2 separate regions of the Homo sapiens genome follow, and region 1 is linked to region 2. The links are contacts of gene promoters, found by promoter capture Hi-C in human tissues and cell types (Jung and others, 2019). All regions are on one chromosome and are shown on one strand. Each heading gives the region's core, a stretch centred on a gene start or on the middle of the fragment in contact. The rest is flanking DNA. Distances are from core to core; before and after follow the strand shown. Region 1 overlaps RBMS2 (RNA binding motif single stranded interacting protein 2). Region 2 holds the start of ANKRD52 (ankyrin repeat domain 52).

Region 1 (4,669 bases), core at 1,745-4,244, 330 kb after region 2:
TATTTTAAAAACAGTTTTTCTTAATGTTTCTATTTTGAGTGGGGCATTCAAACTTTTCTGAGCTTTGTTGAACATTATTAGATCTGTGGGCTGAATAATAGTTTCCAGGCAATTAACATTTTTGTTTTTGCTTGTTTTAGAGAGTGACTCAGACATCTCCTCTACAAGTACCTAACCCATCCTGGATGCACCACCATTCATACCTCATGCAGCCTTCAGTGAGTATTCAGAAGTGGGCAGAAGCCAAAGAGGCAATTTGATGTAAAGAAAAAACTGGCTGGGCACTGTGGCTCACGCCTGTAATCCCAGCACTTTGGGAGGCCAAGGCAGGCAAATCACCTGAGGTCAGGAGTTCGAGACCAGCCTGGCCAACATGACAAAACCCTGTCTCTACTAAAAATGCCAAAAATTAGCCAGGTGTAGTGGCGGGTGCCTGTAATCCCAGCTACTCAGGAGGCTGATACAGGAGAATTGCTTAAATTCGGGAGGCAGAGGTTGCAGTGAGCTGAGATCGTGCCATTGCACTCCAGTCTGGGCAATAAGAGTGAAACTCCGTCTCAAAAAAAAAAAAAAGGCCTTTGATGCCAGGAGATGTGGGTGTGAGTTCTGGCTCAGACCCTTGTGCAACCCAGCAGTAAGACCTAAGCTTGTTATTCTTAGACGAGGGTCCTTCCACACTGACAGGCAGAGTTCCTATTCTTGTTGCATAGTTGGGTTGCTGCTCACTTACCATTTCCCAGGATTCTTAAATGTCTGTCTCCAGTGGTCCTGACAGCCACCGATCACTGCTTTAGGCAGCCTCACAGGATGCTGCAGCTAACCCTGTCCTTTGTTGCTGCCTCTAGGGTTCAGTTCTGACACCAGGGATGGACCATCCCATTTCTCTCCAGCCTGCCTCCATGATGGGACCCCTTACCCAGCAACTGGGCCATCTCTCCCTCAGCAGCACAGGCACGGTAAAGCAGGATATTTCTGATTGTAAACTCTCCTACTGAGCAAGGCATACCTGTGTAATACTCTTCAGCGTAAGTAACTTATGAATAATGATGGAATTACTTCAGTGTCATCCGGGGCACACTCAGAACAGGACATAAACTACAATGGTAGTGCTCCATGAGCCAGGAATACAGCCATTCTGCTCCCCAGCCCACCCCTTTTAACTGATTCCTACTCATGCACCTTGTGAATAGTGCTTCTGTCTGCATATTAGTTTAAGATACACACACGTCCTAGGAATCCTCATCAAAATAGTACCTGGAAGGATGGAGGAAGCTCATTAGGTTTCTTTTAGGCCTACTGCATTCCTTTTTGCATAGAAAGGGCTCAAGGGTAGAGAAGGGAGTGTGTTGAGGAAAAGCAGAAGAAAGTCAGGAAAGAGGAGGAAAATAAGTCATATAGGGAGACGTCTCCCTAACAGTGTACTTTAGAACCACCTGAAGTGCTTTTAAGATGCAAATGCTCAGACCAATTAAAATAGAATCTCTGGGGTAGAATACAGGTGTCAGTATTTTTTTTAAAGCCCCTCAGCTGCTTCAAATGTAGCCAAAAATCACTGCTGTAAGCCTGTTGATGTTTCTCTTTCTAGTATATGCCGACGGCTGCAGCTATGCAAGGAGCTTACATCTCCCAGTACACCCCTGTGCCTTCTTCCAGTGTTTCAGTCGAGGTAAGGGTGTTATCATTTCTTTGGATTGAGATTAGGAAAATGAACGGAGGCAGGTTTCCCCCTGATCAAGATCTTTCTCTCACAATGATGCTGATTCTGTGTTCACAAATAGCTGGTAGGTATACGAAGAACGTAGGAAGGATGTGCTCGCTTCGGCAGCATGCATACTAAAATTGGAACAATACAGAGAAGATTATGGCCCCTGTGCAAGGATGACATGCAAATTTGTGAAGCGTTCCATATTTAAAAAAAAAACAACAGCAGATGTAGGAAAGAAGGACTTGGTCTGAGTTCATGAATGAGGCCCTTCCTTACATTTGGCCAGCCAGTAGTTGACACCAGGATGCTGGCTTGTATTGACTAATGCGTCTTGGGAAGAGGACAGGCTGTAGGAAGGTTGGGGAAGTGGTGGTGTGGGTGGAAACACTCACACATGAGTGTGGAGAGTGGGTAGGTTTGGGAGGGCACTCGATGTAGGGTGGGCTTTGGTCAGGCTGCTGTAGTGGAGGTGAGGAAAGGAATGCGCAAGATGACCCCCCTCCTTGGCTATGGCACAGGAGAGCAGCGGCCAACAGAACCAAGTGGCAGTGGACGCACCCTCAGAGCATGGGGTCTATTCTTTCCAGTTCAACAAGTAACAGTGGGTAAGAACCACATGCTGGGGGGCAGGGAGGGCTGCACTGGCAGACAGCAGCTCAGCCCGGCCTGAAGTCAGACAGGTTCTCATGTTTGTCTTGTCTCCTCTCTGGCTTGTGCCTTCTTTAGGATTCCCCTCCCCATCTTTACTGAATAGAAATGAATTCTTGGAGATACTCATGCTCCCAGATTCCAGAGGGTTAACCAGGAATGGAGACCATCCGTCGGCCCTGCTAAGGACTAACACTTAGCCATCGTTTTTCACAGGCCTGGGCCTGGAAAAAGAAATCTCTACGTTCCTGCCCTTTACTATTGCTGATGGAGCCTGGGGGAACCATCACTTTTTTTGTGTGCTACATTCAAGGAGATCAAAAAAACTTTTCTTCTTTTGCAAAGAAAGCTTTTTGTTTTTAACTGCAACGTACTTTTCCCCTACCTTGAAGAGACATGGTGGTCGCAGCTTCTCATCTATATGAAAAAGTTTTCGATGTATTGGAATTATTTGGGAATGCTTTTAAAACAATTTGTAATTATTTCTTTACAAACCAAAACAGAACAGAAAGGTGTGGTGCTGGAACATCGATGAAGGAGCCCTACTTACTGAGCTTAGTTATGGACTTTTTTGATGCATGTGTGTATGTGTTTTAAAAAGTATGCAGGCTCTAAAAATGTTATTTTGTAAAGCTCTCAGCTCATGCACCCCATCTCCTCTTCACCCATATTATGCCTTCTTTCTCTTGTCCAGATTCTTCTTTTTCTCTTTTCTAAACAGCTGAGCCTGCCTACTTTGCCCTTTTACAGCTTTTAATTTTATGGATTTTTAAAAATGAAATTTCATGTGGAATTTGGGGTTGGGGGGCAGGCTGGGCAAGGAACAAGGCAGAACACTAAGTAGGCCATGGAAGTGGCTGTTCTTTCCCCCACCCTGCCACACCCTGGGAGAAAAAACTAGACTTTGGCTTCAGAAAGCACAGATGTGACCCAGGCTTACTAAAGAGACAACTCCACAGCCCTGGGAACACACCCTTGAGCCAAACTTGGTTGAAGACTAGGTCTTCCCTGGCAAGTTCCGGAAGAATGGACTTACTGACTTTTATCAACTCTTCTCACTGCCAAGGCCAACAGCATCTGAGGTATAGCTTTTTGGGAGTACCTGCTTTCTTGCCTCCTGGAGGATATTTTCTGTCCTGGGCTTCATGGCCCCTCTCTTCCCTGTTACACATTGCTGTGCTCAGAGCCTTTGCAGCTGCGACCTAGTTGAATCCACATAGGCTCCTTCCACACGGTGGAAGATCTGCTGCTTCACTCACAGACCAGGAGTTCTCAATCAGAGGTGGTTTTGTCCCTCAGGCCTTTGGCAACATCTAGAGACAGTTTTGATTGCCACGCCTGGAGGTGGGATGTGTGTGCTACTGGCATCTAGTGGCTGCTAAACATCCTACACTGCATAGGATAGTCCCCACTACCCCCAGCCAAGAATTATCTGACTCCAGGGGTCAATATTGCCAAGACTGGGAAACACTGATATAGACAGTGTTGTCCCTGCCTCCTGGGTTAGGGTAAATTTTCACCCCAACCCTGGACAAACAGTGCCTTTTGACACTCATGCAACTGTTGGGGAAGGACTGGACTGGGATCCTTGAATTCTCCCCAGACTTTGACTTTTGATAACTCTGCATATAGCAAGAGTGATTCTTGAAAGAGCTGTGGCTCCATGCTGAATGCACACATGTACTCAGAGGGATTCAGGTGGGCATTGTTCTGGTGTGTGCTGTGCAATGGTGGGAAAGGACAAAGCTCTCTAAACTGTCCAGAGCAACCTGCCCTGCCCCGGTGTGCTTGGACCCTTTGCCCAGGGAACCAGGACATCAGAAATAATGTTCCTTCTGTGGAAGGACAACGGGGAGCTAGGGTAGCAAAGAGCAATAAATTCCAACTCTTTATGAGGTCAGGAGTCCTTTAAAAAAGCCTATGTCTTGGTCTTTAACTGTCCCCTTCTGCAAGATGTGACTCTATACACATGGAGACAGATTGAAGAAAGACTTCACCCATCTTCTAGGAAATAAAATCCTGCTCTTGTCTTCTCCCAGTCACTCCCTTATGCACTGAAAGGAGAATTTGACTCCCTTGCACTTCAAGGCCAGGTGCCTCTCCACTAGACAGTCAGACAAAGGCAAATAATGGAGGATAGAGAGACAGGTGTTCATTAGGCTGGCCATAGGGAGAGGAAGGGGGTGACAGCAGGGGAAAAGAAACTGTAGTATCAGTTGTCACAAGTAGAGCTCGGCCCAGCTTTCCCTCCCTTCCCAGCCACCCTAGAATTGAGAGTCCCAGTGCCCCTAGTGTCGACTTTCTATGTACATCCTA
Region 2 (4,343 bases), core at 1,536-4,035:
TCCTGAAGTCCAAGTTAAGAATTTTAATCTAGTCTGACCATTCATTTAGTGCTTCAGCTTAAGTGTTTATATAACCATCCGGGCTGCTTCTCCTTCAGGCTTGAGGGCCCAGAAGCAGGGAAACGTGAGTAGGAAGGTAAGAAAAGGGAAAGCCCCAGCTGGGCCTGGATGGGAACAGTCCTCACCTCAAGATGCCCACTATGCACTGCATGGTGCAGAGCACTGCGCCCGCTCCTGTCAGCCACGTTGAGGCTGCTCAACAGGGGTGCCAGAGCCTCAGCACACTTGGTGGCCCGGTTGGCAGCAGCCACATGCAGTGGTGTCTGCCACAGCTTGTCCCGGGCATTCACATCTGCTGAATGTGCCAGCAGCAGCCCCAGCACCTTCTGTTGAGGGGCAGGGGACAAAAGAGAGAGTGGGAGCAGGAGGTAAAACAACAGGAAATGGAAGGAGGAATAGGTCAGCATAGCATCTACAGCCCCTTCCCCAGCACAGAATCTCTTCTCATTTTTCCAACATACCTAGCCTCTGAATACCTACTTTCCATCTTCTGGATCTTCTTAGAACTTAAGCTCTTCCTTACCTTGCTGATTAAAACAAGGACCCTTTGCTCTTCTTCAAGCCACCTGACTCGCCAACTTAGACCCTGAAAATCTTCACTCACACATACATCCATTCCCAAACAAATCCACATGTGGAGATCCACACATCCCAACCCCCTACTACTTCTAGGAAAACTAAATGCTCTTGCTACATCTTGCCCTGAACACCCTCTTTAGCCTTCTCATAGGCACCAAAATTATTTTCAGTATCTCAGTAAGCAAACAGATACTGGTTCGTTTGCAAAACCCGAGCTAAAATGCCCCTCCTAACCACCACCCACCTCATTCCCACTGGCCTCGGCCCCTCCCCCTGGTGGCTGGAGCCAGGGAAGTGATGAACTGAGGAGGAGGTCCCCCTTTCCCTGTCTTCAGGGCTGATGGGAATAGGATAAAGGACCCAACTGATGAAATATGTTTGGCCCCTGTGCTGTCAACTTTCAAGCTGCTTGAGGGCCAAGGATGCAACAGATTACTATACCCATCCTCCATCACAAGGAAAAGAAATCTCAGTGCCCAGAGGGGGATCAGACTCAAGGTGGCCCCCCAGGGAGGGATGAGTCACTCAGGCCTGGCAGCAGGGCCCCCGCAGTCTGCCAGCCCAGTGTTAAGCTCTTCCTGAGTCACATCAGCTGGCAGCACTCAACCCCCTTACTGGCCAGTTCTAGGGGTAGGAGGAAGGGGCCAAGATTTGATCTCCTCACTACCTGGGGTAGAACAGCTTGTAGGGCTGAGGACTGAGGCTCCTTAACCCTTAACCCCCACCTTTAAGCAACTTATCCTTTTTGAAAGGGTAATAGAAGGTGGGGGTGCATACCTCGTTTCGGGAGGCAGCAGCACGATGAAGAGGGGTCAGCCACAGTGTGTCCTTAGCATTGACATTAGCACCTGTGGGGATATAATTTCCTATTTTGATGGAAGGTGGGGAGGAGGTATGAAGGAAGCCAGTAATCAGGCCAGGAAATCTGAATGGAGCTGGAGCCTCGCCTGGACCAAGCCGGGGAGAGCAATCCTTGAATATCAAAAAAGACTCCTCCCCTCCCTTCGCTCCCTATGTGCCACACCTTCCAGCTCCCCACTTTCACCTGACATCAGTAGCAACTGGAGGATGGGGACATCGCCTACGTAGGCAGCAGCATGCAATGGAGTTCGCCTCTCTTGGTCCTGGGAAGGCAAAAAAGAGCAGGGAGTATGGGCGCGGGGTAAGGGGGCTATCAAGGACCCCAGCCCAAGTCTCAGAGCTCCAGGCCCTTCCCCACAACCTCTTCCCATAGTTTCTGCAGCGTCCTAAGTCCCGGTATTGGGAGTCAAAGGCAAGCACCTAGGGAGGGTGGAGTCAGGGCCAATGGGCTGAGAAGCCGGCTCCTTTTTCCAGGAGGGGTGGGGGCGCTGCAGACTCCGGAGGTTGAGAAGAGAACAACGTTCCTGGGCATTCCCAGCCCAAGTGATCTGGGCTTCAAGCCTGACCTGCTCTCCATCCCCAAATGCAGAGTAGGCTTTCACTCCAGGATGGAAAGAACTGCGGCCTCATCTGAGCAGAGGAGACACGGAGCCGCCCCACCGGTGGGGAGGGGTCCAGAACACGGGAGCCAGGATTCCGGTCTCGCCATCCTCCCTGCTCCCAACTCACCAGCACATTGATGTTCTCCTTCTGCGAGAGTAGGGAACGCACTTCCTCCACATCTCGGCTAAAGATGGCCTGGACCAGGGGCGGCTGCAGAGAGAACCGGCATTCTGAGAGCGGGCTGGAGCCGGAGCGGAACCGGTGTGGGGGTGGGGGTGGGGGAGCACCTAGGTTTGAGTGGGGGGCGTCCGTGGAGGGGCTCCACTCTAGGGATTCTGGCTGGAGCGAGCTCCCGCGGTGCCTCCGCCGGTTGCCAGGTCCCCAAGGACACCGGCTCGGTTGAGGGGAGCGCGGCATGGGGCGGGGCGGGAGCTGCGGGAGCCCCGGGCTCAGGCCCAGCCTAGGCCGCACATCCCCGGGCTCGCGTGACGGCAGCGCCGAGCCCTGGAAGGAGGAAGCGGGAAAGGGCAGGAGGGCTGACCTGGTCCGTGATGCTGAGGATCCCCATGGCTCGGCCCGGGCTCCGTCCGCATCGAGCTCCCGGCGGCGGCGGCGGCGGCTCCACCGGGGACACGGAGCGGCCCAGGCGGCGGCTGCGGTGGCGGCTGCAGGGAGAGCGCGGCCCCGCCTACCGGGGGGCGGGCGAGTTGGAGGCCGCAGCGCTCCCTGGCGGCCGTCCTGGTCCCGGCGCTCCCCGCGCAAACGGACCCCGGCCGCAGCGCCCTCCGCCCCACCCTGGCGGCCCCAGCAGCCCCTGCACCCCCGAACTCGCGCGCCGGCTCCCCGGCTCACGCAGCTGGCCGCGCTGTGCTCTCCGCTCCAGTCTGGCGGCCCAAGGGGTTCCCCACAAGACCCTAGCGGAAACCTGGGCCTTAGTCCCGCGGTGCTTCCCAAACTGAGGACCGAACGGCTGGCCAGATCTTACCCAGCCCACAATGCTCCCGCCCGAGCTAACTCCTCCCGTCAGCGATTCCACACCCCGAAATCCCCCACAGACTAGGAGGAACTGGCGGGTGGAGAACTGGGAATTATGTATGGCAATAGCCCCAGAGGGAGGGAAAGCGTGTATCTCCACTGGCGGAGGCGTGAGTTCGGTAGAGAAGAAATAGCAAAAGTGCTCAAACTGCAGAGAAACCCCAAGGAGGATTCTACTGCAGAAAACACCCACAAAGAGGCCATGACAACTGGCAGCTGGAAAAGGCCGCCAAGACCAACAGAAGGGGCATTTTCCAACTCCTTACTGATTCCATTGCAAGGTTAAAGTGGAAAACACTCAACAATTTCTCCCCAGAACAGCCTGTGGCGCTTCCCCTCCTCCAATGGAGAGGCCAGAGAGCCGTCAATTAGAGAAGAAATGAATGGAGGTCATCTCAACCCAGAAACGGAAAAAGGAGGAAGACGAAAAGTGGAGATTGAAAAATTGATACAATTTATAAAAGGTGATCCAGGGTCCTGTTCAGAGTTTCACAACTCAATACACATTGAAGAGAACACGAAATGGACGAAGTGCAGCATGCTGGCGTCCTGTCAAGGCTTTATATATAAAAATCCTCCCTTGAGGGGAGAGGAAAAAAATTAAAAAATAAAAATACATTTTATTTTATTTTTTGAGATGGAGTTTCACTCTCGTCCCCCAGGCTGGAGTGCAGTGGCACGATCTCGGCTCACTGCAACCTCCGCCTCCCGGGTTCAGTGATTATCCTGTCTCAGACTACCAAGTAGCTGAGACTACAGGCGCCCGCCACCCTGCCCGGCTAATTTTTTATTTTAGTAGAGACGGGGGTTTCACCATGTTGGTCAGGCTGGTCTCGAACTCCTGACCTCAGGTGATCCACCTGCCACGGCATCCCAAAGAGCTGGGATTACCGGCGTGAGCCACCGCACCCGGCGAAAATACATTTCAAAAAAGCCTTCCCGGCCGGGCGCGGTGGCTCACGCCTGTAATCCCAGCACTTTGGGAGTCCGAGGCGGGTGGATCACGAGGTCAGGAGATCGAGACCATCCTGGCTAACACAGCGAAACCCCGTCTCTACTAAAATACAAAAATCAGCCGGGCAGGGTGGCGGGCGCCTGTAGTCCCAGCTGCTTGGGAGGCTGAGGCAGGAGAATGGCGTGAACCCGGGAGGTGGAGCTTGCAGTGAGCCGAGATTGCGCCACTGCACTCCAGCCTGGGCGACAGA

Evidence for each region. Contacts are between HindIII fragments. The study calls those that stand out against the background at their distance.
Region 1: a contact is called between a fragment that was not itself captured here and the fragment with the promoter of ANKRD52 in region 2, in 3 of the 25 tissues and cell types used here (aorta, dorsolateral prefrontal cortex and lymphoblastoid cells).

What each region holds. Positions count from the first base shown.
Region 1 is chr12:56,586,709-56,591,377 of GRCh38, forward strand. It overlaps RBMS2 (RNA binding motif single stranded interacting protein 2), which reads left to right. Exons shown (of 14, transcript NM_002898.4): 10 at 141-218; 11 at 846-956; 12 at 1,586-1,666; 13 at 2,224-2,310; 14 at 2,432-4,669. The coding sequence ends at 2,304. It also overlaps the pseudogene RNU6-343P. Among named protein-coding and RNA genes, the nearest start is that of BAZ2A, 41 kb to the right of the region's middle. The HindIII fragment of the contact is 7,330 bases long and covers 1-4,669 here.
Region 2 is chr12:56,255,599-56,259,941 of GRCh38, forward strand. ANKRD52 (ankyrin repeat domain 52) reads right to left here and starts at 2,786. Exons shown (of 28, transcript NM_173595.4): 1 at 2,645-2,786; 2 at 2,230-2,313; 3 at 1,685-1,763; 4 at 1,417-1,487; 5 at 186-386. The coding sequence starts at 2,671. RefSeq lists enhancers at 796-1,788, 2,095-2,144, 2,225-2,274 and silencers at 2,335-2,404, 2,425-2,974, 2,985-3,044. The HindIII fragment of the contact is 23,354 bases long and covers 1-4,343 here.